4 separate regions of the Homo sapiens genome follow, and all the other regions are linked to region 2. Evidence: promoter capture Hi-C in 16 types of primary human blood cells and fetal thymus (Javierre and others, 2016). All regions are on one chromosome and are shown on one strand. The core of a region is centred on a gene start or on the middle of the fragment in contact, and the rest is flanking DNA. Distances in the headings are between cores, read along the strand shown.

Region 1 (3,514 bases), core at 95-2,594, 170 kb after region 2:
AGGGGACTTAAACTTCAGAAATGTTTTATTTTATTTTAAAAAACCTGAAGCAAATAAGGTGGTTTTTTTTTTTTTTTTTTTAAAGAAAATCACAGCCCCAAATCTTACCTTTCCAAGTAGCTTTTCTTCTCCAGGGGTCACAAAGGACTCCTAGAAGGAATTAAATGTTTTGTGCTTGGAAGTAGAGAAAATCTTGAAATGACCTTTGCAGGGTAGAGCCAAATGGAAGATCTAGTGACTTAGGCATGAGTATCCATAGAGAAGCCTAGAGGAAAAAGTATATTTTCTGTCTCTTGAAGAGCTTTGGGATAATTATTTTTAGCACTAAGATGAAATTTCTGAGGATTACATGGGAGGATTATTTTATTTTTCTAACTCACTGACTTTTCCTTTTTCCTTCTATTTTCTCTAATGTTTCTGCATGTTTTTCAATCATTCAACAAGCATCAATAAAGTACTCATCCCTAGAAGTAAAGCATCTGGAAACACATTTGCTCCTTTTCTCCTTTCATTATTCAATCTTGGTTTGTAATCAAAACTTGCCAATGGCACACTAGGGCTTAGGAACTGGAGCTAATGGTTTCCAGTTCCAGCCAGGAACAAGATGAGAAAGCCAAAGAAGTTGAAGCTCAAAGACTAAAGGAGAGACCATCAGCCTAGGCTTTCCCAGGTTGCAAGATAGGCCCACAGAATAGTGCCAAAGAAACCCTGTTTTAAAAAGTAAAAGAGTTGCTAGGGTTCTATCTTGGTAAAATTCAGGCAGGCCTGTAAGATACCTCTCTCAGGTGTAGTTTCAGATATTATTCAGTGCATCCAGTGACAGGTAGCTAGCTGCTCTTCTGGGCGTAGTTTTCTGTTCTTGTCAGAAGTAGATTTTAGCAATTTTGATCAGAAATATTTTGAACTACTTCCTGACTTCCACTGGTCCTGAACTGTGGTCTTTGTCTTCAACCTCTGAAGTTATAGAAACTAATGTAATTCTAACTTTATAATTCAGACACTGGTAGGCATATTCTTTGTTTTCAAGCCACTAAATTTCCATATTCAGAGTTGAAAACTCCAAATTTTCTTTACTTGGCTCCAAATTATGCACTTTTTAGCTCTCATACTGCCTGTTAATCTTCTATAGACAAATTGCAACTTTCCTGCATTTCTGCTACCACCAAGCACCCAGAGGATGGCAAAAGAGAGAAGGTCCCAGAGCACATAAGCCTCTTTACCTGAGACAGGGTGCAGTCTTTATTTATTTCCTTCTCAGACTACTTCAGCAGTATTGACGCAGGAATGGAAAAGAGCACAGATAGGGACTGAAGACAGAGATCTCTCTAGTCTTCTGGCTAATCTTTGTATAGCCACCATTAACATCCTCTAGCCAGACTCACAGAAAATGTGAAGCATGGGGTTTGGCTCCATTAATATTGGAGCTCTTGTTAGTTTCAGAAGTATCTGGGGCAGTTATAATTGTAGTGCCTCAGAAACTCTGACCTCTGGGAACTTCTTAATCCCTCTTCCCGTAGGACCAAAAGGTCCTCCTGGGAAAAACAGGCAGTTAGATGGGAGAAGAAAATTATTCTCTTTCTTTCTGTGACAAAAAACCCCCGGTAATCCAGTGCTACACTGACTGCTTGTCCTGTAGGCAGTAAGTACGTCTCCTGGGTACAGGGATCTTATGTTCACATCCATCTGTGTTCATATTCATCTGCCTATGCACACTGAGCAGCTTCTGTGGATCCAATAAGTGAATGGAAATTTTTGTGGGCTTCCTGCTTGTTTTGTTTGATAGGCACTGCCCAAACCATGCTATTGAATGGATTGGTGTTAATCTATCATGACTTTTATGAAGGTATTATGATAAAAATGCAAGAGAAAACTGAACAAAATCTTACTGAGAAAATGCAATGTGATATTCAGAGAAAAAAGACCTATAATAATTTTTTTTGTGGTGAGAGGTTTAAAAATGGAATTTATAAATAACCCAATATTAGTTAGCAACTATGTTTTTCCTTTAGGTTTTATTTTCATTTTGAACCTTATATGAATTATTCACACTTATCAACTAATGGAAACAAGCATCATAAGTTTCTTCAAGACTTTTGCTTTATTTCTTTTCCTGTATTTTCCAACATTCCTCCTATTTCCCTTCCCTTTAGGAAAGTGAAAACTCCAGTGGATTTAAAATATATCTTTCTAATTAATTTTCAGTATGCTTATACAGGGATATACTTAATTTATGAAAAAATTCTTTTAAAATTGAATTTATATAACTGTCACTGGGTTGTAAATCTGTTATTCTTTTTCTATCAATGCTATATCTTCAAATTTATACATGTTGCTATGTGTAAGTTGACTTTATTATTTTTTACTGCTGTTCACTACTAAGAAAGACCATTTGAGAATTTTCCCCAATGCCTTATGAATTATAATGCTTTCCTTTCTCGACGGTGGAAACAGATACTATTTCAGGCCCTGTGTGTTGATTGGATACTGTTCTCACTAATTCTTTTAGGTGCCCTCCTCCCTTCCTCCACCTTGGTTAGTGTCCTCATCTGCACACATTCATTCATTACTTGAGGAAGATCCTCTGTAGGTTTTCAGGCTTCTCTCTGTGTGCAGCTTTCTTTTCTCCAGTATTCTTTCTTGCGAGCTTTAGCGGGTTTGGTCTTTCTGTACTCCAATTACATCTCCTCCACTTAGGGACTCCACTGAGTTCCATTTGGTCTTGCTTCCCTGCACTGCAGCCTGGAAACTCTTTGAAGACAGAAAACTGGGGTAGTTGTAGGGCCTGCCTCATTTGTTTCACATATTTCAGGGATAACTGTCCTTACTTGCCTGATGTCTACTGTCTTGAAACTCATTGTTTACTATATTTTATTCCACTTTTGGTTTGTTTTGTTTTAGGTCAGTTAGGAAAGCAAATTCAGTCCCTTTCATCATATCTTGGCTAGAAGCTGAATAATATGAGAATTTTTAGAGTAATTTAATTCACCTCATCAGTATTTGTTGTAGCTGATCTCAAAAGATGCCCGCCCCCAATGTAGCATGCTAGTGAGGAATCAATACTTTGTATGATCCCCTTATTTTCAATCTGAGATGAGTCTTGGATTCACTTTTGGTTAAAAGAATGTGTTGGAAGTGAAACTGATTGAATTCTGAGACAAGCTCCTAAGAGGCCTTGTAGCTTCTACCAGCATCTCTTAGTTAAGTTGTTTAGGGGGATATCTGACTGCACTGAGACAGTTTTGCTGTGATGAAGCCCCAGTTAGCTATATGGAAAAGACTCACAAAGAGAGGCCTCTGCTCAGTCATGCTCTGATGTTTGAACCATCTCAGACATGTGAGTAAAAAAGTTATATTGGACATCCCAGCTGCAGTACATGTCACACGAGTTAGAACCAAGAAATTCAGCTGACAGGTACACGGTACAGCGTAGCTGTCACGGTCACATCCAGTAATTCAATCCATCCCAGCTCATGACCCAGTCACTGTTGTGCAGACAAGATTTCCCCACTGTTCC
Region 2 (3,592 bases), core at 935-3,434:
TTAATTAACAGGTTATTTGAAACTATTTTTATAGGGCATTTTCTAGGATCCATTTTCTTCCTTTCCTAGCAAGAAAACTGCCACATAGTTAGATTTATATTTCCATGTGTATATCTTATTTCAAAGCATGTATTCTTTATCTCTTTTGATTGTCACAGCATGTTTGCGATTTGGCTCAGCAAAATGTTATGATTTTTGTCACTTTTAATCAGAAGAATTGAAACATAGGGAGGTTTCATAAGTTGTTCAAGTTCACACAGAAATTTTGGAACAGAGCAAGACTGAGAGTAAGAATAGTGCTATGGTTTTTCAATCAGACTTCCCAGGACTTGAATCCCAGCTCTCCCACTTAGAAACTGTGCTGTCAGGGGGCAAGTTCTATAATTTCCAGTGCCTGAGTTTTCTTAGCTGGAAATTGGGAATAATATTGTACCTGCCCAAAGGGTTATTGTGAGAATTGAGTCAGATAATCTACATACATATTTTATCAAAGTTTCTGGCCTACAAGAAGTATTTAACACTTGTTAACCATTAATTCATTAATTATTGAGATTTTTTTGGGTACGAAAATTAAACTTTACTCCTTTTTAATAAACATTTATTGTTTACTTTTTATTATAAAAATTACATATGAAAAGCACATAAATATGTAAGAGTTAAATATGTGTAAATATTAAAGGCTTTGTTTTCTATTATTAGTCATATTATAATGATTTTTATGAATAACTTTTTGACTGCATTTAGACTATTTCTTTTGGATATTTTTCTAAAATAGAATTACTGGTTAAGAACATTTAAACATTTATAAACATTTTGATAAATTTTACCAAATTGCTTTTTGGTGTGTTTATAGTCCTACCAGTTGTGTAGGAAAGTGTTAATCTCGGGGTAGGCTAGCAGTAATAGTTAGAAACATTTCACTTTTTTGTTCTTACTTATTTTCCAGGTAATAGGAAATTTTCTTGTAATTTTAATATACATATTTTGATTAGTGAGGCTGACAGTTTTCATGATTTTATTGGCCATTTTTTTCCTAGGGAGTGTGGTAAGTGCAGATTATAACCCTGATCTATTGAGAACTAAAACCTCTGTCATTTCCTAACATCTTACTGGATTCCTAAAGCTGGAGTTACTTGGACACGTCCTGACCCAGTCCAAGCAGTCTCTGAAAGCCCAGTCTGAGTTTGTGCATCCTGAGTGCACAGGCCAGGGGGTTGAGTGCAGGGGGGATGACATTGTGCAGCACATTAAGGAACACAGGAATAAGGGGAATCTTTTTCTCTGCAAGGTGTGTGACAGACAGCACAATGATACCTGTGTGGAAGAGGATGAGGATGAGGTGGGAGCTACAAGTGCTCAGAGCCTTGGACATTGCTTCTGCTGAGTTCAGCCTCAGCACAGAGTGAAGGATTACAGCATAGGAAGAAAATACCAGAGCCATATCACTCCCAACCAAGACCCATGCTAGCATCAGTTGGTAAAATTTGTTCACAGTGATGTCATCACAAGCCAGGCTGATAACCCCCAAGTTAGAGCAGAGGCAGTGCTCGATTTCATTCCTGGAACAGTAGTGTCTCTGGGCAGCCAGTATAGGCACTGGGATGGTCAACAGGCCATTCCTGAGCATGATGAACCCTGTGGCTTTGAAGACAAAAGCTTTAGTGACTATGGAGGGGTACTGAAGAGGGCGACAGATGGCTATGTATCTGTCTACTGCCATGCAGAGAAAGATGCCTGACTCTATGCAGAAGAAGCAGTGGATGGCATAGATCTGAGCAAAACACATGGGGAGGCTAATGGCCTTGGCATCAAACCAGAAGATGGCCAGGATCTTGGGCATGATGGTGGTGGCCAGGCCAATGTCCACCACTGCTAATATGCCCAGCAAATGGTACATGGGTTCATGTAGCACGGTCTCATGTTGAATGGTGATTATGATGAGGAGATTGGCACCAAGAGCTAAGAGGTAGAGCAGAGTCAGGGGCAGGGAGAGCCAGTGCTGCCACTCATGAATGCCTGGTAATCCCATCAGGATGAACTGGGAAATCTGGAGGCTGGAGTCATAGGTAACACTGGTGGAGGTATCCATGGAATGGGTGCCTCAGTCTCAGTGTCTGTCTGAAATAGAAGAAATCTCTGTTTAAAAGTTCAGCTAAGGGGCTGAGCATCGTGGTTCATGCCTGTAATCCCAGCACTTTGGGAGGCTGAGACAGGCAGATAATTTGAGGTCAGGAGCTCGAGACTGACCTGGCTAACATGGCAAAATCTCATCTCTGCGGAGAATACAAAAATTAGCTGGGTGTGGTGGTGCCTGTCTGTAATCCCAGCTACTTGGGAGGCTGAGGCATGAGAATCATTGAACCTGGGAGGCGGAGGTTGCCGTGAGCCGAGATTGTGCCACTGCACCCCAGCCTGGACAACAGAGTGAGACCCTGTCTTAAAAAACAAAACAAAACAAAAAGTTAAGTGTCTTGGTAAGAGCTCCTCAATAATGAACCAGCTCCTTTTATTCATGAATGACCCTCAACTTTATTTGACTTCTGGAAATATTCCACAGAGGAATAACAAAAAAAGCAAAAAAATTCTAAACAGAAGAGTTGGAATAACTATTTTTCATCACCACTTGTATGTCTAATAAGCATGTCCACATATATTAACAACAGTCTTATCACTAACAGATAACAAATGTTAGTATTTGATTTATTTCCAATTTTCTATTTTATTTTTAAACAGTCTACATCATTATCTAGAGATGATTTTGTATCTTGTTTTTGTCTTTTAGCAGTATGTGTTAAGATGTAATATAAGCACTCAAAAATTTTATTTCATGGATGAATACATTAACCAAAGACTTCACAATATTATTTAAAAAGTGTGATGTTAATTTTAATTGCTGCTTTAAATTTTTGCATTTGGCTATTCTATAATTTACTGACAGGTATTTTGCTTTTAATATTGTTTTCCTTGAGTAGAGTTTCAAAAGTGATGCAAAAATTATATATACAAAGGATATAATAGTCTTAAAATTTTAAATATAATTTTGATTTTATTTTAAGATATATTATCTATACATGGTAAAAATCAAAATAAAATGAAAAATATAAACAATGAAAAGTAAGACTCTCATGCTTGGGGCTTTGAAATCTTTTTCCTTTTCACTAGAGGCAGCCAGTAATATGTTTCTTGGGAATCCTTCCATTAATAGTTTATGCATGGATAAAAACATATATATATATATATATATATATATATAATTTTCATAAAAGACATAATCAATTGTTAGCACACCTTTCTCCTTTTTTCTTTCCTTTTCTTTTTTAACTTAATATTTTGAAGACTGCTCCATATTTCCATACTGCAGTTAAGTTGCATTATTTTCTACCACCTAGATGCCCTATAGTTTAATGATTTTTTTTTGTATTTTTAGAATTGATATATCATATTTGTAGATATTTTGGAGGTACATGTGATATTTTGATACATGTATACAATGTGTAATGATCGAATCAGTGTAATTAGGATATCCATCACCTCAAGCATTTATCTTTTCTTTGTGTTAGGAACATTGCAATTCTCTTTTAGCGATTTTGAA
Region 3 (3,656 bases), core at 637-3,136, 250 kb after region 2:
CTTGCAGTACAGTTCTTAAATTTCATGTTTGGAATTTTATCTTCTTTACTACGTGGTGATTTCCTTAAGGATATATGACCAGTTTTATTCATTTTTTGTATTTAAACTTCCTAATTACCACTGATACATAGAGAACCTCTTCAATATTTGATGGGATAAATTGTGAAAGGTATTTCGCTGCCTATTTTGTGTATTCTCAATTAGTGAAAAACAGGAAGTTTATACCCTTATCTCTGATAGTTTCACCCAAGTTTATACACACACATTCTCTCTCTCTCTCTCTCTCTGAAATAATTTCCCAAATTATCAAATAATCTCTCATTTTTGCTATTCTTCGTATGCTTCAAATAGGTACTACCAGCAATGCATTTTTGTTGTTACAGGATTAAAGTAGAACTTGCTGACATTCACACACTTTTATCTCTGCTGCGTACGTCTCAATTCTGACTTCCCCCAATGTTCAAGTATTCTTAAATTGTAATCAATGCTTTTTGTGTAGTTGCCACGTCACATTTAACCAATTCCGCATTATCTGTAAAACTAGTTTTTCCCAAGTAAAAGTAAGTTGCGCAGTAATGAACTTTTTGCTTCAAATTTTGAATTTACTATCTGTAAATTCAGGATTTACTATCCGTAAATTCAGGATTTACTATCTGTAAATTCAGGATTTACTATATTGGAGACATCCATAGAGACAAAACAGCTGGGATAGAATTTGAGTAGCAGCTAAACTGTAGGTCATCCAAAGGGCTTCTACTTTCTTCCCATGAATATAAGACTGAGATATATTTGAAAATTTTGTAGCCCAGAATATTTAGTTTCCTTGCCACAGAAAAAGCTGGCCTATATATAAACAGTTTCTTTACTGAATGCGTGTATTTATGCACTCTCCAAATAATAGGATTATCTAGATTAAAATTATCTCTTCATCCATGTTCCATCATAGCTGCAAAATACTCTTTGTCAAGTATTTTCTTTTCCTTGTTTTTACCCATTTTCCAAATCCGATGGATAAGCTTCTTTTCTCAAACACAGGTGTGATGGAAACTAAATTATTTATTTCCTAAAATATGACATTAAAATTACCCACAGTTTTGCCTCCTTGTAATCAATGTCTATTTGTGGAGGTTTTAAATTGAGAACTATTATGTAGCAGATCTTTTTCCTGCATATGAGCAAGATAAATTGTTTCTTCTCTCAGAAGTATACAGTCTAGTAGTCACAAATTGTATACAGTATACACAGTCTAAATTGTATACAGAAGTATACAGTCTAGTAGTCACAAACTGTATACAGTATATACAGCCTAAATTGTATACAGAAGTATACAGTCTAGTAGTCCCAAATTGTATACAGTATAGTCTAAATTGTATATAGAAGTATACAGTCTAGTAGTCACAAATACCTGTAAAAATGCATAACAACACAGAAACGGTTTTACACACTACATTTTTGATTCCCAAATAGAGGAATAGTTGAGATTACAAATACCTTGATCGTGAAGCAAAAATATGTGTAACATTTCTATAGACACTGACCCTGGAACTTTATTTTTCTCATTTAGTTCTGGCTAAATTCCAGATTTTGCATTTTTATTTGGCAGATGACATTCTTCTGCCATTTCTTTTTATATTAGTCTTTGATATTAGGTGAAGGGGCAGTAGAATAAGACTGGTTCTATTCCTGGTACCAATGTTGCTCAGGAGAGGCTAGGAGAAATTGTGGAGAGTATTTTACCTTACTCATGAATATATATAAAGAAAGATTAATATGTTATTGTGAATTTGACTAGAAATCTGAACAAAAGAAGAAGTGGAACAAGAATTACTAATAGGAATATTATAATCGTCGCTGGTGTGCCCAGCAGCTTTATATGGCAGGAAGAATGTCTACGTCTAATCACACCCAGTTCCATCCTTCTTCATTCCTACTGCTGGGTATCCCAGGGCTAGAAGATGTGCACATTTGGATTGGAGTCCCTTTTTTCTTTGTGTATCTTGTTGCACTCCTGGGAAACACTGCTCTCTTGTTTGTGATCCAGACTGAGCAGAGTCTCCATGAGCCTATGTACTACTTCCTGGCCATGTTGGATTCCATTGACCTGGGCTTGTCTACAGCCACCATCCCCAAAATGTTGGGCATCTTCTGGTTCAATACCAAAGAAATATCTTTTGGAGGCTGCCTTTCTCACATGTTCTTCATCCATTTCTTCACTGCTATGGAGAGCATTGTGTTGGTGGCCATGGCCTTTGACCGCTACATTGCCATTTGCAAACCTCTTCGGTACACCATGATCCTCACCAGCAAAATCATCAGCCTCATTGCAGGCATTGCTGTCCTGAGGAGCCTGTACATGGTTGTTCCACTGGTGTTTCTCCTTCTGAGGCTGCCCTTCTGTGGGCATCGTATCATCCCTCATACTTATTGTGAGCACATGGGCATTGCCCGTCTGGCCTGTGCCAGCATCAAAGTCAACATTAGGTTTGGCCTTGGCAACATATCTCTCTTGTTACTGGATGTTATCCTTATTATTCTCTCCTATGTCAGGATCCTGTATGCTGTCTTCTGCCTGCCCTCCTGGGAAGCTCGACTCAAAGCTCTCAACACCTGTGGTTCTCATATTGGTGTTATCTTAGCCTTTTTTACACCAGCATTTTTTTCATTCTTGACACATCGTTTTGGCCATAATATCCCACAGTATATACATATTATATTAGCCAACCTGTATGTGGTTGTCCCACCAGCCCTCAATCCTGTAATCTATGGAGTCAGGACAAAGCAGATTCGAGAGAGAGTGCTGAGGATTTTTCTCAAGACCAATCACTAACCAGTTGGAGGTTGGAGAGTCTGTCACTCTAACCTAATAGAAAGCAGAAAAACAGAAGGGAATGCTGCAGCCAATAACATTATTTATCTGTTAACTGAAGCTTTTGACTTTAATTATAATAATGAGAATTTTACCCTTGTCGAACTCTCCTTTTCCAAGTTCTTTTATTTCTATTGCTGGATCCTCAAGGCAGTTTTATAAAGTATGTATTAGTTTTTCCATTCTTGTGATTAATATACTTATGTTCGGAAAAGTTGAGTGATTTACTCAAACTACATGTTTAATAGGAAGTAGTAATTTAAGCCAAATAGACTGCCTTATAGTTTTCTTTAGTATGTTTAAGAAATAACAGAATACGGAATAAAATTCTTACTTTAAAAAGATAATAAACAGAATAAGTGGCTTCTAGAATTCTTAAAATAATAATAATAGCTTACTCTAGTAATAATATTAACATACCATAGATGCAGTGTAGATATATGGGTATTGACAGGTATACCACACATGAATATACTCATATCATGCCCACCATAATCTTATTCAATAGTTACTATAATTTCCCTCATGCACCTAGAGATGCAAGCATAGTCATAAAATTAGATATTAAAGGAAAAAGGAAATAATGCAGCATGAGCATGACATATACATTCGTAAATATTTCATTCATTTGCTTGTTTAATTATTTAAATAATATTTACATAATATATTTTTACATATATGAATATATGTGCGTGTGCGTGTGCATACTTCTACTATGTTTCATGTGTGGGTTTATGAGCTGTAGGAACATTCGAAGACACAGTGTATTGTCTTTAAGTACTTATATACT
Region 4 (3,453 bases), core at 954-3,453, 210 kb before region 2:
GAATCTACTCTACTTCAGAATTGATCTAACTTGTCAAAAGCCAATTATTAGATTTCTTGTCAGTGATTGTTTAGGGAACATAGGCCTAAACCCATCAATGCATGTCATTTTTGTAGCCATAGAATTTGGATTTGGAAAAGCCATGTAACCCAGTGGAAGGCAAGTGTAAAAATTCTGGGAGGCTTCTGGGAAATAAATGTCCTAAATTTTAAGATGGTCCCCTTTTTTTTTTAAGATCTTGTGCAGAGTTGTGAGGCCTGGAATGAAGCTGACACCTGTGCGTATGTGGGCACATACACATGGGTAGGGGGTGTGTGGGGGACATGGGGGAGTGTGAGAGGTGCGGGATGGGGCTCATAGTTGAGCAGTGGAGAGAACTGTAGAAAACCAGATTTGGAGCTGTGAATGACTCACACTTAATCACCACTCTACCAATCCTCTTTTTCAATTATGTTTGAATTGAGTTTCCTGTTACTAAGTACTGTTTGAATTGAGTTTTTGTTCCCTCAGTCTGAAAGCATTTTAACTGGTACATCCCTGATGGATCTCTCTGGGTAAATGTAGTTTCACTGGAAGAGATGGTGATTCCCACCAGATTCCCAAGAGAGCTTATTTTCTCTTGTATTAAGCAGCAGGGGTCAGGCTTATGGCCTTGTATTTGTAGAAATCAGCCATCAGCTTAGCATCACCAGATTTCTGGCATTAGCTGCCCACGTCTGTGGCACTTCAGGCCCATGTAACTATTTCCAGAGTGACACAAGTTTCTTCCACAGTTGTCAACAAGTGGCCCTCACAGGTTCAGTGAGAAGAGGAAGAGGGAGAGAGATCATCAGGATTAATGGATTACTTGCATTTGTGAGACGGTTTGCCAAGTATTGCTACAAACAAGGCACGGGATTTTCTTTTTTCTTTTCTTTTTTTTTTGAGATGGAGTCTTGCTCTGTCCTCCAGGCTGTAGTGCAGTGGAGCAATCTTGGTTTACTGCATTCTCTGCCTCCCAGGTTCAAACGATTCTTCTGCCTCAGCCCTCCCGAGTAGCTGGGATTACAGGCGTGTGTCACAACGCCCTGCTAATTTTTGTATTTTTAGTAGAGACGGGGTTTTGCCATGTTGCCCAGGCTGGTCTGGAACTCCCTGCCTCACGTGATCCTCCCCCCTCGGCCTCCCAAAGTGGTGGGATTACAAGCATGAGCCACCGCGCCCGGCTAAGGCATGGGATGTTTCGAACTGCTGACATTAGAAATTCACAATCCACATCATTAACTGGATCCTCCATGCCCACTCTCTCCCTCTCTGCAGCAGCAATTTCAAATCTTTACTCTCCGCAGTTCCACAGAACACAAGAAACAAACAAACAAGCAAAAAAAGTCAGGCAGGAGCCCAAGTAACCTCTATCAAAGCAAAGACCAGTGCCTAGTCTAACGCTTTTAAGGATTTTAAAAGAGGTGAAGGTGTCCTGCTTATCCTCCAAGCTTGGGTGCTGGGGCCGGGGCGGCTGAGATTTACCAGTGAAACCCAAAGAAAGAGAGGGCAGAAAACTAGAGAAAAGAAACCAGATAATGCTACCCAAGAGGACGAAATAAAGAAGCAGGAAACGAAGCCTGAGGCTAAACCCTGGAGATGACTATTAGGAAAACACCAGAGGATGCCCCGCCCGCCAGCCCACAATGAGCAGCCTGTCCAAGTCACAAAGCGGGGCCTCGGGCCTTGACAGTTCGCGATCTGTAAGCAGAATGTTCCAGGGCCTCCCTGTCGCCTGCATCCAGCCTGGGGGCAATCTTCACTGGTGTGGGAGGCCGAAAGTGGACGGCGACGGAGGCCCCTCTGGTTATCTCTTTGCCGTGCCAACACAGTCTCTGCGCCCACTAAGATGCATGAAATAAAAATTTCCGTGACTCGCCCTTTGCAGTGGAGAACTGAAACAGGCACACCAGGGAATTGGAGCGGAGGAGGGTAACTCAAACTCAGAGTGAGAGGGTTTGCAGGGGGCCGATTTGGGGCCAACAGGCTTCCCAGCAGGCCCCCGGCGCGGGACAGCGGAAGGCGAAACGCTTTCAAGAGACCCCGCTGCCAACATCCCCACGCCCTCGCGCCCTCCCGCCGCCCCAGAAGGCCAACTCCGCCTGCCTGAGTCACAGCTGGAGCTGGGGAGGAGCCAGGGAAAGGAGGCCCCTGACCGTAGTGCGGCCAGCAGTTGCAGGCAGACGGAGCAGAGCGGTCAGGGATCATGAGGGAGAGTGCGTTGGAGCGGGGGCCTGTGCCCGAGGCGCCGGCGGGGGGTCCCGTGCACGCCGTGACGGTGGTGACCCTGCTGGAGAAGCTGGCCTCCATGCTGGAGACTCTGCGGGAGCGGCAGGGAGGCCTGGCTCGAAGGCAGGGAGGCCTGGCAGGGTCCGTGCGCCGCATCCAGAGCGGCCTGGGCGCTCTGAGTCGCAGCCACGACACCACCAGCAACACCTTGGCGCAGCTGCTGGCCAAGGCGGAGCGCGTGAGCTCGCACGCCAACGCCGCCCAAGAGCGCGCGGTGCGCCGCGCAGCCCAGGTGCAGCGGCTGGAGGCCAACCACGGGCTGCTGGTGGCGCGCGGGAAGCTCCACGTTCTGCTCTTCAAGGTCAGTGACCTCAAACGGTCCCCAATCCGAGGCCTTTGCCGGCCTGTGGGCCACCAGCTGGGGGCTCCCCGCTTCCATCCACCTACCACACCCACATTCCTGACCCCTCCCGCCGTCTGTTGCTGTGGAACAGACTCACAGAGCCGCACCCACTTCCCAAGACCCAGCCCCATCCCTCCCTCTCACGCCTGAGCCCCGCCTGGCCAATCCAAGCCCGCCCAGCTCTAGCTCAGGCCACGTCCGCAGAATTTGGTCTGAGTCCCAGCCAATCCCTAAAATAACGGTGGTTGAAAGGGCATTCCGTGACTGCGGGCACTATCCTCTTCTCGCCCCTCACCAGGCCTCACCTACTTTACAGCGTTTTGCAGTTCGCACGCAGCTTTCCCTCCCCTTACCTTCCCACGCCTGCCTTTCCCCCCAGACTCTGGCTGCGGAGGTAAAAGGTTTCCCTTGTGTAATTAAGGAGTGAGTTTCGGGCTGCTGGGGGTAAGGAGCTGCCAGGATCAGTGCTGTGTCCGTCACATGCAGGAGGAGGGTGAAGTCCCAGCCAGCGCTTTCCAGAAGGCACCAGAGCCCTTGGGCCCGGCGGACCAGTCCGAGCTGGGCCCAGAGCAGCTGGAGGCCGAAGTTGGAGAGAGCTCGGACGAGGAGCCGGTGGAGTCCAGGGCCCAGCGGCTGCGGCGCACCGGATTGCAGAAGGTACAGAGCCTCCGAAGGGCCCTTTCGGGCCGGAAAGGCCCTGCAGCGCCACCGCCCACCCCGGTCAAGCCGCCTCGCCTTGGGCCTGGCCGGAGCGCTGAAGCCCAGCCGGAAGCCCAGCCTGCGCTGGAGCCCACGCTGGA

The links. Contacts are between HindIII fragments. The CHiCAGO score rates a contact against its expected background, and 5 or more counts as called.
Region 1: a contact is called between the fragment with the promoter of OR56A3 here and the fragment with the promoter of OR56B4 in region 2, in 13 of 17 cell types (naive CD8 T cells, fetal thymus, total CD4 T cells and 10 more). The highest score is 11.3, in naive CD8 T cells.
Region 3: a contact is called between the fragment with the promoter of OR52E8 here and the fragment with the promoter of OR56B4 in region 2, in 6 of 17 cell types (fetal thymus, erythroblasts, M2 macrophages and 3 more). The highest score is 7.6, in fetal thymus.
Region 4: a contact is called between the fragment with the promoter of CAVIN3 here and the fragment with the promoter of OR56B4 in region 2, in 15 of 17 cell types (M0 macrophages, monocytes, M2 macrophages and 12 more). The highest score is 31.5, in M0 macrophages.

Annotation. Positions count from the first base shown.
Region 1 is chr11:5,940,081-5,943,594 of GRCh38, reverse strand. OR56A3 (olfactory receptor family 56 subfamily A member 3) reads right to left here and starts at 1,344. Exons shown (of 3, transcript NM_001003443.3): 1 at 1,221-1,344. The HindIII fragment of the contact is 14,826 bases long and covers 1-3,514 here.
Region 2 is chr11:6,106,276-6,109,867 of GRCh38, reverse strand. OR56B4 (olfactory receptor family 56 subfamily B member 4) reads right to left here and starts at 2,184. Exons shown (of 1, transcript NM_001005181.2): 1 at 1,033-2,184. The coding sequence starts at 2,089. The coding sequence ends at 1,130. The region is part of intron 2 of LOC124902622 (a long non-coding RNA gene); the gene reads left to right. The HindIII fragment of the contact is 4,106 bases long and covers 1,659-3,592 here.
Region 3 is chr11:5,855,920-5,859,575 of GRCh38, reverse strand. OR52E8 (olfactory receptor family 52 subfamily E member 8) reads left to right here and starts at 1,886. Exons shown (of 1, transcript NM_001005168.3): 1 at 1,886-2,827. The coding sequence starts at 1,886. The coding sequence ends at 2,827. The HindIII fragment of the contact is 1,911 bases long and covers 1,019-2,929 here.
Region 4 is chr11:6,319,251-6,322,703 of GRCh38, reverse strand. CAVIN3 (caveolae associated protein 3) reads left to right here and starts at 2,203. Exons shown (of 2, transcript NM_145040.3): 1 at 2,203-2,611; 2 at 3,140-3,453. The coding sequence starts at 2,228. LOC101927825 (a long non-coding RNA gene) reads right to left here. Exons shown (of 7, transcript XR_930998.4): 1 at 3,007-3,453. RefSeq lists enhancers at 1,437-1,526, 1,557-1,616, 1,627-1,986, 2,197-2,246, 2,790-3,453. The HindIII fragment of the contact is 4,344 bases long and covers 1,475-3,453 here.